2 separate regions of the Homo sapiens genome follow, and region 2 is linked to region 1. The links are contacts of gene promoters, found by promoter capture Hi-C in blood cells and fetal thymus (Javierre and others, 2016). All regions are on one chromosome and are shown on one strand. Each heading gives the region's core, a stretch centred on a gene start or on the middle of the fragment in contact. The rest is flanking DNA. Distances are from core to core; before and after follow the strand shown. Region 1 holds the start of NCAPD3 (non-SMC condensin II complex subunit D3). Region 2 overlaps STT3A (STT3 oligosaccharyltransferase complex catalytic subunit A).

Evidence for each region. Contacts are between HindIII fragments. The CHiCAGO score rates a contact against its expected background, and 5 or more counts as called.
Region 2: a contact is called between a fragment that was not itself captured here and the fragment with the promoter of NCAPD3 in region 1, in 1 of 17 cell types (monocytes). The highest score is 9.7, in monocytes.

The regions. Positions count from the first base shown.
Region 1 is chr11:134,221,916-134,225,587 of GRCh38, reverse strand. It overlaps NCAPD3 (non-SMC condensin II complex subunit D3), which reads left to right and starts at 1,621. Exons shown (of 35, transcript NM_015261.3): 1 at 1,621-1,725. The coding sequence starts at 1,662. It overlaps VPS26B (VPS26 retromer complex component B), which reads right to left and starts at 917. Exons shown (of 6, transcript NM_052875.5): 1 at 243-917. The coding sequence starts at 465. RefSeq lists enhancers at 31-180, 281-340, 1,131-1,180 and a silencer at 541-1,010. The HindIII fragment of the contact is 9,666 bases long and covers 1-3,672 here.
Region 2 is chr11:125,600,163-125,603,834 of GRCh38, reverse strand. STT3A (STT3 oligosaccharyltransferase complex catalytic subunit A) reads right to left here. Exons shown (of 18, transcript NM_152713.5): 4 at 1,411-1,532; 5 at 887-1,032. Among named protein-coding and RNA genes, the nearest start is that of STT3A, 9.1 kb to the right of the region's middle. The HindIII fragment of the contact is 3,235 bases long and covers 161-3,395 here.

The DNA of each region.
Region 1 (3,672 bases), core at 372-2,871:
CAGGGCGCTTCCTCCCGCCCTCGCCGTCCCCATCTCCCTGGCAGCGCGCTGTCACTTTTGGCAGGGAGGACAGTAACGCAGGGGGAGTCGCCCACGGGCGGGACTTGTAGCTGAACCCCAGGCCTCAGACTGCAGTTGACAAGCGACTGTGACAGGCCTCGCCGGAGGAGCTGGGCCCTGAATCACCCTGCTCCCCGGCCGGCTGTCGGCGCTGGGGGAGGGGGTCCCGGGGGTCGACTCACCGATCTGCCCGATGAACTCGATCTTGATGCCCTGGTGCTCCAGCCGCTTGTTGGGGTTCTTGAGGGCAAGGCTCACCTTCCCGGAGACCGTCTCCCCGTCGTAGAAGAGGAAATATTTCTCCTTCTTCCCGTCCTCCGTCTTGTGCTCGGCCCGCTTCCTACTCTCTGCATCGTTCAGAAGGATTTCCACCTCCACGCTCTGCCCGAAGCCGAAGAAGCTCATCGCACCGCCGGGCCGGGCGGGTCTCGGTAAGGACCGCTCCCTCGCACCGGGGCGCGGGCTGCCCTAGGTAAAGAAGGCCAGAGGGCCCGATGCGCGAGCGCGCTCGGCCGCCGCGGGGCTGCCTGGCTCCGCCGCTGCCGCCGGGCAGTGGGCGCCGACGGACAGCCGGCTCCACGGGGGAGGGGCACGGCCGGGGGAGGCTGGCGGCTGCGGGCTGCGGCGCCCGAGCAGCAATGCACCGAGGAGCAGTGCCCTCGGCCGAGCCAGTCCCAGCCAGTCCCGCGGCCGGTGGCAGTGGGCGGGCGAGGGTCGGCCGTGCAATGCTGCGGGGGGCAGCCGCACAGAGCCGGGTGTGGGTGGCCTGCGCCTGCCGGGTGGGGTCCAGCGCCGAGCAGCGCTGCGAGCTGCCCAGCCTCCGGCGGTGCAACGCACCGAGGCGCTTCGGCGGCTCCGGGCGGGGGAGGGGGCGGGCGAGCTCCAGCCCGGATGCGCTGGAGCAGCGGCGCGCAGGCGCACCCCCTAACGCTCCTGGGACTCCCGGCAGCCCGGAGGAGAGCTCGCTGCGCATGCGCAGGGAGAGCGCGGCCGGCGCTCCAGCGGTCGGCATGGCAGCTGCTACCTCGCTGGGACAGGCTCTGGGCCCACGCGTGCCGCGCAGTCCCTACAGAACTGCAGTTGTCTTGTCTTCTCGGAGTGCTTTCGGCTACTTTTCCCTTATTACTTTAGCTCGATACACGTTGGGCTGCCTTTCACATTCGGATATTACGCTGTTCGAGTGCTGACGGGAAAGGCAGCCCTTTGACACGCACGCGAAATGTCGCCTGACGAGGGCAAAGGTGACAGTTACTACCGGAAGTACCCTATCTCAGATACCCTTTAGATTTTCCCCCATTGAAGAAAAACGAGGCGGGAAAAACGCTGTTAGGGTTTAACTCAGGCCCTGGCTCCTTCTCGAACGAATTAGCGGAACACCCGCAGGAGCCTTGTTTGGCTTCCACTTTTCGGCCCGCCCAGTTCTCTGAGCGTGCGGCGGACGACGCCGGTGATTGGTTGAGCGAATGGAAACGGCTCGGCGCGGTGGTTGGCCAGTGGGAAATTCTGTACGTTGTGATTGGTCCACAGGAACGACTCGGCGCGCGCGCGGGAGCGAGCTTTGAAAGTTGAGCACGGCGGCGGCGAGCCGGTGCCCTGGGATCATGGTGGCGTTGCGGGGCCTTGGTAGCGGCCTGCAGCCCTGGTGTCCGCTGGATCTTAGACTCGGTGAGCAGATGCAGCCGGGAGGCCCGGGGGCCAGGGCGAGGGTCCTATGCGTCCCCGACGATGCCTAAGCCCGGGCCGGGGTGCCGGTGGGGGCGGGGTGGGGGCGCCCGGCTGTCGGCGGTGCCTGGGGTCCCCAGGGCCGTGCCACGCCAGGATTGCGGCTAGCCAGGTTTCCCGTGGGGGCTCAAGCCGGCCAGGCCACCCTTAGAATAAGCGAATGTTGGCCAGTCTCTTCTAGCGCCTGTGCATCTGTTTTCTCGGCCTTCCCCTTCTTCCTGTGCGTGTCTTCGTGCACCTATCTATTCTTACCTATTAAGATGGTTTTAAATTGCAAATCTCTTTCTTCCGCCAGACTTATTTCTTGAACTTCATGTTCATAGGTTCCACTGGATGTCTCACATGCAGACATCATCAAACGTCACATGAGTGAAAATGGGATTCCCAAAGCCTGCTAATGGCACCATCCAAGCCACCAACCCAGGAGTCATGGCATTTCTGCTTCCCCTTTCATGCCCACTACCACTGTCCTGCCTCTGAGGTGTCTCAGGGCAGCCCCGCTCCATTCCTGATGCTGCTGCCTTCATCATAGCCTCGAGCAATTGCAGGAGTATTTTAGCTGCTTTCTGATGTTAACTGTGCCAGCCCATCCCCCACACTTTTGCAGAACGACTTTTGAAAACACAGCTTTGAATGTGTCAAGCCTGTACACCTTTAATGTTTCCCCTTTGTTTCCTAAATAAATGACCACATCCTTGGCATGCTTTATAAGAGCTGCCATTCTCTCCAGTTTGATTTTCCAAGAGCATAACCTTTGGAGTCGGACACACTTGGATTGTTCCCTTGGCTCTACCCCATAGCATCCATGTATTACCGTGCAGGTTGTTTATCCTTGCTAAACCCCTGTTTTCTGATCTGTCAAATGGGGAGTACAATATCTACCTCACAGGGGTTTTTGTAAAGATAAATTTGTACTTGCCACATAATAACTGCTGAACAGATACTAATACCCACAAGCAAACACTGTAACAATTTTGTTCATTTAGAAACACTTTAATTTCTTTCCCTTTGTGTGCTTTGTTACACTGTGCTTGCTGGGAGGCACTTTTCTGCATTTATTTGCCTGGCAAAACTCTTACATTCAGGTCCAATTGAAGAATCATCTTATTCCTCTCCCTCCTCCCCCAGTACTATTCCCTATTAAGCTCTGTAGCATTTTACATTTTACATATCTATTATTTTAACACTCATCCATAGCAAAAATAATAAATACCATCTATTGACTGTTTTTTATGTGGCTAGCACATTGTTAGGGCCTTTATACACATTATGTTTCACAAAAATCCTGTATTTCCAATGATGAAGGAGAGACTAATTATGTGTAAGTGATCAAGTCAGGATATTTGCCTCGTTCTGACTCAAAATTCAGTGGCCTCTCTTCTATCATAGGCTGCTTTTTTTGGTATCCTAAGTGTGAAATGTTGAGATCTTTGTGGACAAGAACCCTCTAGTATTCATCTTTATATCCCTAGAAGTATAAGTGGCTTCCCTAGTATTTTCTCAAAGTGTTTGTTGAGTGAATAGGTGATGTATTTCTTCCTCTTCTTCCATCCTAAGTGAAGTAGCAGAGCAGAAGTTACCTGCATTCGACAGCTGAGAAAATAGGTAGTGAGAGATTTGAATAGTGTAAAGATACTGAGGGAAAAAGACTAACTCAGTGTCTCCTATACTCTCACTCAACAATCAACACTGAAGACTTCTGTGACCAAATGGTAGATAACAGGGCCAGTTACTGCCATCCAAATTAGATTTGATGGTATTTACAGTAGGGAACTGTCATAAGCAAAACCAAAAGAAGGAGTGAGATAACTTTTGCTGTGGTCTATAATGACCTTTAAAACATTACTGGAAATTTGGAAAGAAACAATTGTATTTTTCAGATCTTCTTTC
Region 2 (3,672 bases), core at 529-3,028, 8.6 Mb after region 1:
CCCCTAACAATATCTGTACATCATTGGAACACCAGTCACACCTCTAAAAGCCATGCAAGGACAATCAAAGGAAGAAAATTATTATTTCAGTTAAAAAGCCAAGAAAGCTAAGTGATAATCTACCTAAACTGAAGATGCCAGGAGCTTAGGCAATAAAGCTTAAATATCACCAGGCACCCTTTGAGCTCAGGAGAAAGGAGCAACAGATATAAGCCACATTCCAAAAAAGTAAAGACTTGTCTGTTGAAAGAGTCAAATTTGGGAAAGGGCAGCAAGGAGAAGGATCAAAAAGTTTTCCAAACTAAATTCAGGCTTCCCAAACCCCCTACTAGTTTATCACCTCTCAGGTATCTCTCTAACACCGCAGCACAAACTAAGAATAGCACCCAGGGAGCCAAGGTCAGCAATGCTGAAACCTGGAAAAACAGAGTCAGCATTATGGAGTCTACTACGGAAGCCAAATGGCTTAAGAATTTTAAAATAAAAAAAAATTTTTTTTAAATCAACAAATAATTGCTGAGTACATTCCTGGTAGGAAAAACTAACCGTTTTGGAATGTTTCATGTAGTTTTTTTTTCCTCTCCCTTACATTGTGAGGACTTCAAAATCCAAACCTCACATTTTGCATTTTAAATGTTTTTTTCTTTATGTTGCAATTTACATTTCACTTTCAACTGTACTCTCATAAGGACAAACAGTTGCTAATGATAAAAAACACATATTGCAGAAAGGGGTTGGAGTGAAGCCAATTAATTTGGCCCAGTAAAAGCTGTCTTCACCTTCTGGCTCCCTGCCTTTCTAAGGCTCTGTCCCCCACCCTCCAGCATCGATTAGAGAGGCTCAATAACATTCATTCCCAAGCCTCCTGTCACCCCAAATCCTTCACCTTGAGCTCTTTGGTAAGGTGGTACGTGACGATGGTGGTGAAGGAGGAGAAGAGAGGGGCCAGGAACACACAGACATTCCGAATGTCGATGGTGATGTGGAAAAAATGGAGTACATGGTAGATTGCAGCAGAGGTGATCATTAAACCTGTAACAGGAAGAAGAAACTCCATTAGGTTGTCTTACCAGAACTTAAGGGAAAAAGAAAGGGAAAATCCCAGATACAATAAAGTGACTATGTAAGTCTTGACAAATCACCAGAAATACTAACATAGCAACTGCAGTAAGCCTATAAATTTCTCCCCTAAGGATTCAATCAGAAGTCTAGAATGTATAAAAACCACCCATCTCCACTCTACTACAAATGTACTCCTGTTTATGTAAGATGCACTTTTAGGAACCTGTAATCAGGATGAAATTACAAGTGTCACAAGACAAAGCTATTAGAAATAAAAGAAACTGGTTCTCTAGCATACAAATATTTCTGTTTTTTTTTTAAAAAAAAAAACACATCTGGTCTCCTCACCTGGGTAAATTGTTCCTCCAATGATTCGTCCCAAAGGGTACCAGGCTCGGTCATCAAACCAGTTATGGAATTTATAAAACCCCTCCTCAGCCAGGAACCTGGTAGTCCGATAATTAAAGTACCTATAGCAAGAAATAAACTTTGTTGTAAATTTGTGGTGAATTTTGCTCCTCAGGATACACCATTGAGAAATTCAGCATTACTCAATGAAAAATCAGTTTAACATCAGATATTATGCCATGAAAATCATTTTACACTACCATAAGTCTGTTTACTTCTATCTCCATGCTTGTCTCAACTAAAGCACTGCTTTTCTCATAAGGAAATGAGCCGGGTGCAGTGGCTCATGCCTATAATCTCAGCACTTTAGGAGTCCGAGGCAGGTGGATCACAAGGTCAGGAGTTCGAGACTGGCCTGACGAACATGTTGAAACCCCATCTCTACTAAAAATACAAAAATTAGCTGGGCACGGTGGCATGTGCCTGTAATCCCAGCTACTCAGGAGGCTGAGGCAGGAGAATCGCTAGAACCTTGGAGGCAGAGGTTACAGTGAGCCGAGATTGCCACTGCACTCCAGCCTGGGCAACAGAGCAAGACTCCATCTCAGAAAAAAAAATAAATAAATAAAAAGGAAATGAAACTGGAGCCTAACATTGTAACAAAGCAATCAAATGGGATACTTCAACAAGCTGACATGTGGTAGGCATTAGGACCAGTCAGAGAATTCAAGCACCATGAAGACAAAGCCACTGAGATGTGGGCACCAATAGATTTTGGCTTTCTTATTTATTTTTTTTTTTGAGACAGAGTTTCGCTCTTGTTGCCCAGGCTGGAGCACAATGGCACGATCTCGGCTCACTGCAACCTCTGCCTACGGAGTTCAAGCCATTCTCCTGCCTCAGCCTTCTGAAAGTAACTGGGATTACAGGCGCTCGCCACAATGCCCAGCTAATTTTTGTATTTTTAGTAGAGGCAGGGTTTCACCATATTGGCCAGGCTGGTCTCAAACTCCTGACCTCAGGTGATCCACCTGCCCCAGCCTCACAAAGTGCTTGGATTACAGGTGTGAGCCACCATGCCTGGCCAGATTCTGGCTTTTAAGTGACAGGAACATATTTTTAAAAATCTATACTGCACACAAAGACACATGAATAATTTCCAGTGATGAGAATCTTTAAAGATGTTGGTATACCATCATATGCAGGATGAAAAAATTTTAACCTACTTCATAACACAACTTTCTTAATCAGTGTTTAAACTTTTAACAAGGTCTACTCATGTGGTTATCTAAAATGCTTCTTATGTCACCTATATAGAAGCATAAAAATATAGATTACAGCCAGGCATGGCAGCTCATGCCTGTAAGCCCGGCACTTTGGAAGACTGAGGCAAGAGGATCGCTTAAGCCCAGTTCAAGACCAGCCTGGGCAACACAGTGAGACTCTGTCTCTACAAAACATTTTTTAAAAATTAGCCAGGCATGGTGGCACACACCTATAGTCTCAGCCACTCAGGAGGTTGAAGTGGGATGACTGCTTGAGTCCAGGAGGTCAAGGCTACAGTGAGCCATGATCACAACACTGTGCTCCAGACTGGGCAACAGAGCAAGACCCTTTCTCAAAAAAAATATAGAAAGATACACAGATACATAGACAACATGAAAAATATTTGACATAAAATGCTTAAGAGCTTTAAATGGAAAGATAGTTCTTTAGGCCCAAAATATGTAAGTCCTTAAGTTTCTTATTTAAAAAGAAATAAGGCTGGGTGAGGTAGATAACACCTGTAATCCCAATACTTTAGTAGGCCAAGGCAGGTGGATCACTTGAGCTCAGGAGTTCAAGATCAGCCTGGGCAACATAGAGAGACCCTGTTTCTAAAAAAAAATACAACAATCAGCAGGACTTAGTGGCACACGCCTGTAGTCCCAGCTACTCAGGAGGCTGAAATAAGAGGATCACCTGAGCCCAGGGAGGTTGAAGCTTCAGTGAGCCCTGATCATGCCATTGCACTCCAGCCTGGTGACAGAGCAAGACCCTGTCTCAAAAAATAAAATAAATAATAATAATAATAAGGCCAGGCGCAGTGGCTCACTCCTGTAATCTCAGCACTTTGGGAGGCCGACGCAGGTGGATCACCTGAGGTCGGGAGTTCGAGACCAGCCTGACCAACATGGAGAAACCCTGTCTCTACTAAAAATACAAAATTAGCCAGGCGTGGTGGCGCATGCCTGTAATCCTAGCTACTTAGGAGGCTGAGGC